Linked DNA regions of Homo sapiens: regions 2, 3 and 4 are each linked to region 1. Evidence: promoter capture Hi-C in 16 types of primary human blood cells and fetal thymus (Javierre and others, 2016). All regions are on one chromosome and are shown on one strand. The core of a region is centred on a gene start or on the middle of the fragment in contact, and the rest is flanking DNA. Distances in the headings are between cores, read along the strand shown. Region 1 holds the start of BLACE (B cell acute lymphoblastic leukemia expressed). Region 2 has its middle 72 kb from the start of HTR5A-AS1. Region 3 has its middle 90 kb from the start of HTR5A-AS1. Region 4 has its middle 110 kb from the start of HTR5A-AS1.

Region 1 (2,701 bases), core at 125-2,624:
AACACCTGCACTCTCTAACCATTTCCTGAAAGACCCCTCTTGACACACCTTAGGGGCTTCAGGGCCACACTGCCTGGCACAGCTGGTTCCCAGTGTGGACCTGTCTCCACTGCCAGCCCCTGCCCCACCCTCTCCACCTGAGTCCTGATCCCTGGTGACCAAGAGAGGCTGTGCTGCTTCTGGCCTTCACAGTAAGCCAGATGGCCTGGGAAGCGAGACTCTCTCTGCCTCCCAGCACTCCAGGCTGCAGTTGCTGTTTCATCATCCATGGGTGTAAAACACCAAGCAAGTGACATGATACAGAATGACCTCCCTGTGCTGGCAGTGGCACCACAGAAACAGGAAGACTCAGAGCCAGAAGCTGCCTGCGCAGATTGCCATTATGGAGCCTGGGAAATCAAGTCCTAGAAAGATTATCTGTTTTTTTTTTTTTTTTTGAGATAGGAGCTTGCTCTGTCGCCCAGGCTGGAGTGCAGTGGTGTGATCACTGCTCACTGCAGCCTCTGCCTTCTGGGCTCAAGCAATCCTCTAGCTTCATCCTCCCAAGTAGCTGGGACTACAGGCATGCGCCGCCATGCTTGGCTAATTTTTTAAACTTCTTGTAGAGACAAGGTCTCACTATGTTGCCCTGGTTGGTCTTGAACTCCTTGGCTCCAGTGATCCGCCTGCCTCCAGTGATCCTCCCACCTCGGCCTCCCAAAGTGCTGGGATTACAGGCATGAGCCACTGTACCTGTCCTAGAAAGATTAAAGGATACCTCTACGTCTACCTCTACCTCTACCTCTACCTCTACCTCTACCTCTACCTCTACCTCTAACCTCTAACCTCTAACCTCTAACCTCTACCTCTACCTCTACCTCTACCTCTCCCCACGGTCTCCTTCCACGGTCTCCCTCTGATGCCGAGCCGAAGCTGGACTGTACTGCTGCGATCTCGGCTCACTGCAACCTCCCTGCCTGATTCTCCTGCCTCAGCCTGCCGAGTGCCTGTGATTGCAGGCACGCGCCGCCACGCCTGACTGGTTTTCGTTTTTTTTTGGTGGAGACGGGGTTTCGCTGTGTTGGCCGGGCTGGTCTCCAGCTCCTAACCGCGAGTGATCCGCCAGCCTCGGCCTTCCGAGGTGCTGGGATTGCAGACGGAGTCTCGTTCACTCAGTGCTCAATGGTGCCCAGGCTGGAGTGCAGCGGCGTGATCTCGGCTCACTACAACCTACACCTCCCAGCCGCCTGCCTTGGCCTCCCAAAGAGCCGAGATTGCAGCCTCTGCCCGGCCGCCACCCCGTCTGGAAAGTGAGGAGCGTCTCTGCCTGGCCGCCCATCGTCTGAGAGGTGGGGAGCACCTCTGCCTGGCAACCACCCCGTCTGAGAAGTGAGGAGCCCCTCCGTCCAGCAGCCACCCCGTCTGGGAAGTGAGGAGCGTCTCCGCCCGGCAGCCACCCCGTCCGGGGGGGAGGTGGGGGGGGTCAGCCCCCCGCCCGGCCAGCCGCCCCGTCCGGGAGGTGAGGGGCTCCTCTGCCCGGCCGCCCCTACTGGGAAGTGAGGAGCCCCTCTGCCCGGCCAGTCGCCCCGTCCAGGAGGGAGGTGGGGGGGTCAGCCCCCCGCCCGGCCAGCCACCCAGTCCGGGAGGGGGGAGGGGGGTCAGCCCCCTGCCCGGCCAGCCGCCCCGTCCGGGAGGGAGGTGGGGGGATCAGCCCCCCGCCTGGCCAGCCGCCCCGTCCGGGAGGTGAGGGGCGCCTCTACCCGGCCGCCCCTACTGGGAAGTGAGGACTCCTCTGCCCGGCCAGCCGCCCCGTCCGGGAGGGAGGTGGGGGGTCAGCCCCCCGCCCGGCCAGCCGCCCCGTCCGGGAGGGAGGTGGGGGGATCAGCCCCCCGCCTGGCCAGCCGCCCCGTCCGGGAGGTGAGGGGCGCCTCTGCCCGGCTGCCCCTACTGGGAAGTGAGGAGCCCCTCTGCCCGGCCAGCCGCCTCGTCCGGGAGGGAGGTGGGGGGTCAGCCCCCCGCCCGGCCAGCCGCCCCGTCCGGGAGGGAGGTGGGGGGATCAGCCCCCCGCCCGGCCAGCCACCCCGTCCGGGAGGTGAGGGGCGCCTCTGCCCGGCCGCCCCTACTGGGAAGTGAGGAGCCCCTCTGCCCGGCCAGCCGCCCCGTCCGGGAGGGAGGTGGGGGGTCAGCCCCCCGCCCGGCCAGCCGCCCCGTCCGGGAGGGAGGTGGGGGGATCAGCCCCCCGCCCGGCCAGCCGCCCCGTCCGGGAGGTGAGGGGCGCCTCTGCCCGGCCGCCCCTACTGGGAAGTGAGGAGCCCCTCTGCCCGGCCAGCCGCCCCGTCCGGGAGGGAGGTGGGGGGGTCAGCCCCCCGCCCGGCCAGCCGCCCCGTCCGGGAGGTGAGGGGCGCCTCTGCCCGGCCGCCCCTACTGGGAAGTGAGGAGCCCCTCTGCCCGGCCAGCCGCCCCGTCCGGGAGGGAGGTGGGGGGGTCAGCCCCCCGCCCGGCCAGCCGCCCCGTCCGGGAGGTGAGGGGCGCCTCTGCCCGGCCGCCCCTACTGGGAAGTGAGGAGCCCCTCTGCCCGGCCAGCCGCCCCGTCCGGGAGGGAGGTGGCGGGGGTCAGCCCCCCGCCCGGCCAGCCGCCCCGTCCGGGAGGTGAGGGGCGCTTCTGCCCGGCCGCCCCTACTGGGAAGTGAGGAGCCCCTCTGCCCGGCCACGACCCCGTCTG
Region 2 (2,701 bases), core at 114-2,613, 220 kb after region 1:
CATACAAAGAAGGTCCTAGCTTCCCCTTCTGCCATGAGTGTAAGTTTCCTGAGGCCTCCCCTGCCATGCAGAATGTGAGTCAATTAAACTTCTTTTGTTTATACGTTACCCAGACTCAGATAGTATCTTTATAGCAGCATAAAAATGAACTAATAGACATGGCAATCAGTTACCACAAGGAAACAAAGATAATTCCAGATGCTCTTACTCCCAACGCCTGGGTGCTTCCTGGACACCCTCATTTTAATGTCCCTTTCAGGGGTGGATGCAGGCATCCAAAACACGTGGCTTGCTAGAGGATGCCTCCAGCTCTCCTGCTCTGGTGGAGATCCTCAGAACCAGCATGTAGCTAGCTGCAGGCAGCACCTGCCAGGTGGTCAGAAGGGGCTGAGGGTGCACGGGCAGCCGGACATCTCTCGGGGTCTGCAGACCAGGAGTCCGTGCTTCCTGCCAGAACTGGGGAGGTCCTTCAGCATTCAGCCTGAGACTTGGCTCTTTCCCCCAGTGTGGTGAGCAGCAGTCTGACCCCACTCTTTCATATTCAGCTGCTGACAGCATTGATGTTTCTCCCTCCTCCCCTTCACCCCACATCTGGGCAGCTGTTGAGAAAGCCAGGGGTGGGGGGTGTTTCCCTCCTCTGGCACTAGTGGGAGATTAAAACCCCACAAATCTCTCCCATTAGGAACTCTAGCCCCAGCCCACCATCAGTATGAATTGTCTCTCATTTTCTGTATATGATACTCTGATAGCTGGGGCCCTGCTGACCCTGGGGAGCTGCTCCTCTCACAATCAGCCAATTCCCAGATAGTGAACCATCGCCCACCCCACACAGGCTTTCCATGTGCAAACCCTGCAATCCATGTGCAAAGGAGGAGCCCACACCTGCCACCTCCTCTGTGGGCTCACACTCCCGGCCGCTGTCCACCCACACTTGTTACCCCAGGGCAGGGACCAGACCCAGGGCAACTGCTGTCCCCAGAGGGCTAGAATTATTCAAGCTGGGCAGTCCTGGGCCTGCTGACCCTGCCTCAGCCTCCCTTATCGTGGAAACCACAATAGAAGCTCCTTCTCACTTTCCCTGCCCCTCAGCATCCCGACCAACCCTGGCACATCCCCAGGTGGCCCCCATGGCGTGGCCGGACCCCTCCTCTAGGGATCTGTGAGTAACACACCAGCTTTCCAATGGCAGCCGTTCCTAGTTCTGACCTGAATAATAATAAAGTCTACATCAAACACTTCCTAACCACAGTGAAACCCAGGCCAGTCTCTTGTCCCTACTTCCAAGCCTTTTTACACGAGCTAGAGGCCGGCCAGCTCTTCCCAGAGTCCTCAGTTACGGGAGTCATAAACTTTCCTCGCCCTTCTGTGTGTGATGTCACCTGAAGCATGTTTTGGGTGGGGTCGTCTGCCTCTGCAGAAGACTGTCCCACTGGGCTCACCATACTGTGCCCCTACAGCAAAACTTCCGTAAGAGCCACACTTCATTTCTGTTACAATTTTTAAGACACCAGTTAAACCGACCAGCCACATCATCTTCGACAATTACTCTGGGTCCAATCAATAAAATGGGAACAAATTGGCCTCTTTCTCAGATGCTTTGTAAGGAAGTAAATGGATATTTTGTGTAAAATATTTAGCATAATGACAGGCATCATTCACTCATTCAATTAATAATTCATCCAATCACTTGTTTTTTATTAAGTAAAATTGTAATTCCTAGCACAGGTAAGGCTGTGGAACGCCTTCAGGAGGACTTGTTACGGCAGACACAGGCAGCACGCCTTCATGCCCTGTGCTCTGCAAGACCAGTCCCTGGAAGTCAGAAACTTTGTACCAAGCCTGGGCATGAAGATCAGAGACTGCTCTTCACACACTCAGCTCTTACTGCGTGTCTGTGGGGTCAATGAAAACACTTAGGGCTACACCAAGTGGATTATATTTGATGTAAACCAGGTGAAATGTGCAGAATTTTGAGGGGTCTTTTGCTACAATAAAGTGAGGGTGAGGAACAATTTAGAATTTCTGCTGAATTTCTGTAACTTGAGGAGGTTTTCTTGTTATTAAGACATTGAGCCAGAGAGCAGCTCCACCAGGCTGATCAGAGAGCCCTTTCCCTACTCCTCTGACCCCAAGGGTATGTCAGGGCAGCCTTAGGAAAGGAGTCCCCGACTTTGAGGGGACAGACAGAACACAGATCTGGAGAGCACTGACATGCACTGACATGGACACAGTTGCCTGGGAGCCCGGGAGGGTGTTAACAACCCGTAGTCAGGGAGAACCCAGGCAGCAGGTGTGGAAAGGCTGAGTTTGGCCAAAAGTTCCGAGGGTCTGAATGTTGCCTTCTCAGAAATCATGCGTAGGGGCACACATTAAAATTCTCCCTGTAACTTTCTTATGCTATCCAATAGCAAAACTACCCAAAGAGCCACACTTTTCATATTGTTACAATTTGTGAGACACCAGTTAAATTGACCAGCTGTGGTATCTTCGGCAGTTACTTACTATTTTTATGCCTCTGGCCAAGTGTGTATGAGTGTGTGTGTATACACGCATGTGTGTGTGTGTACATGCATGTGTGTGTATGCACTGTGTGCATGTGTGTGTGCGTGTGTGTCTGTGCCTGTGCATGAACACGCATGTGTGTGTGCGTGTGTGTGTGTGTGCAGGTGCATGCACATCCGCAGGGAAGGAGACACAGTTC
Region 3 (2,701 bases), core at 114-2,613, 210 kb after region 1:
TATTGAATTTTTAATTTTTACTATTGAATCTACTATTCAATACCAAAAACTTTGCAATCCATATAAAACAGAAGGGAATATTCTATTCAATCATTCAATTATTGCTCCTTTTAAAATTGTATTTGCAAGCTCAGCATGTTAGCCTCAGGAAAATAAGCTAATAAGTTGTTAAGTCACTTAAAAAAAGTCTTAAAGCCAAAGTTATTTGAATAACCAAGAAGAACAGGAATGGATAGGAACAGTTTTAACATGTGGTCAGTGTTCTTCATACAGAGAATGACTAGATAGTTAGACTGTGTTGTTTCATGTATGTCTTAGAATGCTGCCCTTTCATTACAAGAGGGCTTTGCTAGAGGTACTGTCTGCCTATTCTGAGTTCCTTGCATTAGTCATTAGTAGTTCAAGCAAAGTAGATGGATCTCAAATAAACTGAGTTCGATTTTTCTGAGCAAAGATGTGTGTGTGTGTGTGTGTGTATCTGTGTGTGCATATGTGCATGTGTCTGTGTGTCTGAAGTTGTATGACATTGAAAAGGTGAGGACACTGAGAATCCTGTTTTCAGAGAAAACTTCTGAATTCTTTCTGATCTTTCTCTCTGAAGCTAGAAGTTTTTCCTTTGAACTGGTACATGTTAGACATTCAAAAAACATTAGAGGATCCTGGGCTGATCAAGAAAATGTATATGAACAACACTCTTCTTGTTAAGGCGATGCATGAGCCTCCAAGGAGATGGCTTCCTTCTGCGATTTTTCAACACAAAGCCTTTCTTGCCACTTGAGTAAACACTGGCCGTCAGCTTCTGAGTCAGGAGTGTTTTGTGTTTGTGGGATATGGCCCAGGTGTCATCATAGGTCATAAAGATGAGACAAGGACATGAGTTGTGCGGGATGTGATGAAAAAGTCTGTAGCACATGGGAGCTGTCTGGATCAGGTCTTCTTCCCCTGAGTTCCTGCCTCTCCCTTGACATCTGTGATGTGTTCCACCATTGGGAGGGAAGCTGGTCTAACCTCACCGCAGGCAGCATTGACCTGTGCAGCCCTGATGTGCTACTGAGCAGTTTATTTCAAGTGTGTTTGATATAAATGTAGGTGTTCATTTCAGTATCTTATGGGATAGTAATACTTTTCCCATATAACAGAGTCACTATCATAAATTCTGGAGGAATGGGTATTAGTATACATTAATCAATTTGAGAGGCACTGACTGATTTCTTTTCTATTTTTAAAGGTGTTCACATAGAGACAATACCTTTGCCCAAGCCAGTGCTAGGTTTTAGAAGCTTGTGGATTTCTGCATTAATAATTCATCTCCACAATAGAAAGTTCTTCTATCCAATAGATGATCCCATTACATTTATTTATTACAAATTATTACAATGGACTAGAGACAGCCACTTTGAGGGAAGATAGGACATATCTATGATAACCTAGTGGTTGAAAGCTTCACTGATACTTTAGAAATGTTATTTATATAAGAAGTCTCATTAAAATGGGAGATCCTAAGTCCACAAGGAAGAGGGTGCCTAGAGACACAAGCAGACTGGAGTTCCATGCATAGAGAATGGCTAGAAAGCCATTTTTGACTAATCTTAACTTTGAGATCTTGGTCATTTGCACCAATGCTGGTTGACTAAGTCCATGGGCACACAATGGGGATGGCTGCTTGGGCTGAGAGTCTGGAGAATGTGGCTCTTATGGCTGCTTCCAACTCTGAGATTCTGTGGCCTGGGAGCCAAGGGAGGGGGAGTTAGGAATAGGTTAGATAGATGAACTCAATAAAAGAACCCAACAAAGGCGGGAGATTTCCAAGATAAGTTAAAGGTGAGAATAGTCTCCTTAACAGGTCAGGCAAACAGCTGATGTTTTAAGACTGAAGTTCTTCAGTTCCAAACTAGGTTTTCCAGCAGAAACCAAACAGAAGTAAAATCTTGCTCCAGGTATCCTGTATTGAGGGACAAAAGTTGGTAGAATAAAAGGAAGGGGACCCTGGGTTATCCTAGACAAATTGTGAATTAATGCAAGGAAAATGATAGAAAGTCTAGTAATTCAGATGGTGAAAATTAAAATATAGGACATAGTTACCTATATTTTAACTATAAAATGTAGTTTCATACCTGTTATGTTGCACAAATAAAAATTATACTACCAAAATTTGGTGGAATTGCAATGAAATTGGCACGCTTATGTATGACTATTAGTAGTATATACCAATATAATTTTGGGACAGACTATTTATTATATAAAAGCCCACAAAATATTCAAATAATTTGAAATAGTAATCTTACTCTTGTAAATGTAGAACAAAAAATAATTCAAAGTGATCATTACAATGATGACTCTCAGGCAGCACAATATTTCATGACTGTTATTGTTATTGGAGATTTTAAAGCCAAAATATGCTCCTCAGGGGAACAATGTACTCTTGTCTATCTCTAGATGTGTGTGCTTTTTCCTTCTGCAATAATCAAATTATAACAGAACTGAGAGAGAGACAGTCAACATTGTAATGATCACTTTGAATTATAGATATAGATATATAGAGGGATAGATATCCGTATTTATCAATCTATACATATGTGTACATGTATGTATGTGTATGTATATATGTATGTGTATGTATATACGTATATACATATGTATATACGTATATACGTATGTATATACGTATATATGTATGTATATACGTATGTATGTGTGTGTA
Region 4 (2,701 bases), core at 132-2,631, 190 kb after region 1:
TATAAATACATATCTATCCTTTTAGGCCTGTCTCTCTAAGAGAAGCCTGACTAATATACAGCCCCTCTCCTGTCTGTCAGGACACACCAAACATAGATTGGTGTGGCCTGATTTTGGACTTTATCTAAGTAAAATAATAGAAAGTGTACTTTTTAAATATTTGGCTCCTTCTGCTCATATGTCTTTGGGACTCATCCACGATGTGGTGTGTCTCAGTACTTCATTTGCTTGTGTTGCTGCAGAATAGTCCATTGCATGAATAGACAGTACCACAGTTTATTTATCCATTCTATTGTTCTAACCATTTGATTTTTTTTTTCCTGTTTTGGCCTATTAGGGATGGTGCTGCTGTGCAATTCCTATACATGTGTTTTGGTGAATATATTTATGCATTTTGCTATTGGATGTACACCTAGGAGTGAAACTACTCAGGCAGAGGTTTATGTGTGTTCAGCCTTAGTAGATACTGCTAAACAATTTTCCAAAGTGACTGTAGCAATTCATACCCAGTAGTAGTGGATGAATGTTCTAAATTCTTCACAAACGTTTTGTCTGTCTTTTTCATTTTACCATTCTGCTGGTTGTAAAATGGTATCTCACTGTGGTTTTAATTTGCATGTCTCTGATGGCTAATGAAGTTGAACAATTTTTCATATGTGTATTGGCCATTTGAATATACTCTTTTATGAAGTTCTTATTTCTCAATTTTTATATTGGTTTCCTTACCATTTCCTTATTGATTTATAGACCATTAAAATATATGTATGTTCTCAATATCAGCCCTGTATGTGTTGCAATATCTTCCCTTACTCTGTGGCTTGTCTTTTTTCTTTCTTAATGTTCCTTTTCTATAATCAGAGGTTCCTAATTTGAATGTAGTTCAATTTATCATCTTTTTCCTTCATGATCAGTATTTTGTGTGTCCTGCTTAAGAAATATTTGCCTGTTCCAACAACAGAAAGGAATTGCCCTAGGCTTTCTTCTAATTATATTACTATTTCATCTTTTATACTTAGATCCACAATCCTTCTATAATTGATTTTTTAATAGTGTGTAAAGTAGAGGTCAAAATTTATTTTGTTTTTTCCTTTGGATGTCCATTTGACCCAGCATCATTTATCGAAAAAGCCATCTTTTCTCTACTGCATTGTAGTGTTACCTCTGCCACAAAATAGGTGCCTGCACAAATATAGGGCTGTGGCAGATGGTCTTCTGAGATGGCCACTCTGCACATACATGCACCCCACTCATCAGGACAGGAAGGCTCTCTCACCATTTCACTTCTCCCTGACTCCAAGCAGGATTATAGCCTATCTTGACAACAGAGCTTGGATGTGGGTGCTGCTGTTCCTATTGTGGGCCAGGCCTCAAGACATCTGGTAGCTTCCACTTTTATGGTAGGGGAAAGCAGCTGTTGCATGAAAAGTCTGACTGCCCTGGGAACATCACGCTAGGAGGCATCCCAGATTAGCCACCCAGAGAAGTGAAGAGAAAAACTGACATCAAGAACTGAAGCCCTAGATACATCATTGCCGTTAGTTGTTCCAGCCAATTCTCTGATGTTTGGACTATTGCAGGGAAGGACCAGGCATTGTGGAGCAAAGTGGACTGCCCCTGTTGTTGTTCTGAATTTCTGACCCAGATAAGTAGTGAGGAAGTTTGTCACACAGCGATAGGCAACTGACACAGTTCTGCTCCTGGACTCTGCATTTTAGTCACCAGTCTAGTTACTATCCTTTGTCAGCACCACAATGTCTTTATCACTACAGTTCTGAAATAGGTCTTGGCATCTGGTCAAGCAGACCCTCCAGGTTGGTTCTACTTCTTCAAGACTGACTTCACTATTTTTGGTCTTTTAGATGTCCATAGACACTTTAGAATCAGCCTGTGAGTTAAACAGACAAACAAATGTCTAGGCTTTTTATTGGTATTGCACTGAGTTGGTAAGTCAATATTGGGAGCTTTGACATATGTATAATATTGAGTCTTCCAATCCATGAACATGGTATATCTCTCTATTTATTGGGTCTTATTTAATTTCAGTAATGTTTTGTAGTTTTCAGTGTATGTATTTTGCATATCTTTAACTAGATTTATTCCTAGGTATTTGAAGTTTCTTATTCTGCTTTGTGTGCATTTTATTTATTTTCTACTCATTTTGCTAGTATACAGAAATACAACTGATTATCATATATGGCCTTTTATTTAGTAACCTTGTTTCTTAATCCATTTCATGCTGCTATAAAAGAATACCAGAGACTAGGTAACTTGTAAAGAAAACCATCTTATTTCCCACAGTTCTGGAGGCTAAGAAGTCCAATGTCAAGTGGCTGACATCTGGCAGGGCCTTCTTGCTGTGTCATTCTGTGGCATAAGGCAAGAGAGGGTGGGGGGTGGAGATAACTCTTTCTTTTATAAAGAACCCACCCCACAATAATAAACCCATCCCTCAATAATGGCATTAATCCATGAGGGCTCTGCTCTCGTGGCTTAACCACCTCTTTAAATGTCCCATTTCTTAACACTGTTGCATTAAAGATTAAATTTTCAATACATGCTTCTTGACAGACATATTAAACCATAACACCTTGCTAAATTCACTTATTGATTCTAATAGTCTATAGATTCTTTTGGAGTTTCTGCATGTGCAATGATGTCATTTGTGAATAATGACATTACAAATTTTACTTCTTTTGTCCCA

What was found. The method cuts DNA at HindIII sites, captures the fragments that hold promoters and counts their contacts. A CHiCAGO score of 5 or more calls a contact.
Region 2: a contact is called between a fragment that was not itself captured here and the fragment with the promoter of BLACE in region 1, in 2 of 17 cell types (neutrophils and total CD8 T cells). The highest score is 6.8, in neutrophils.
Region 3: a fragment that was not itself captured here is called in contact with the fragment with the promoter of BLACE in region 1 in 7 of 17 cell types (total CD8 T cells, activated CD4 T cells, non-activated CD4 T cells and 4 more); the score reaches 8.5 in total CD8 T cells.
Region 4: a fragment that was not itself captured here is called in contact with the fragment with the promoter of BLACE in region 1 in 8 of 17 cell types (neutrophils, M2 macrophages, activated CD4 T cells and 5 more); the score reaches 8.0 in neutrophils.

Annotation. Positions count from the first base shown.
Region 1 is chr7:155,366,606-155,369,306 of GRCh38, reverse strand. BLACE (B cell acute lymphoblastic leukemia expressed) reads left to right here and starts at 1,374. Exons shown (of 6, transcript NR_103545.1): 1 at 1,374-1,498. The region is part of intron 2 of LOC105375593 (a long non-coding RNA gene); the gene reads right to left. The HindIII fragment of the contact is 7,901 bases long and covers 1-2,701 here.
Region 2 is chr7:155,142,249-155,144,949 of GRCh38, reverse strand. No RefSeq gene overlaps it. Among named protein-coding and RNA genes, the nearest start is that of HTR5A-AS1, 72 kb to the right of the region's middle. The HindIII fragment of the contact is 3,447 bases long and covers 1-2,701 here.
Region 3 is chr7:155,160,068-155,162,768 of GRCh38, reverse strand. No RefSeq gene overlaps it. Among named protein-coding and RNA genes, the nearest start is that of HTR5A-AS1, 90 kb to the right of the region's middle. The HindIII fragment of the contact is 161 bases long and covers 1,283-1,443 here.
Region 4 is chr7:155,176,914-155,179,614 of GRCh38, reverse strand. No RefSeq gene overlaps it. Among named protein-coding and RNA genes, the nearest start is that of HTR5A-AS1, 110 kb to the right of the region's middle. The HindIII fragment of the contact is 2,884 bases long and covers 1-2,701 here.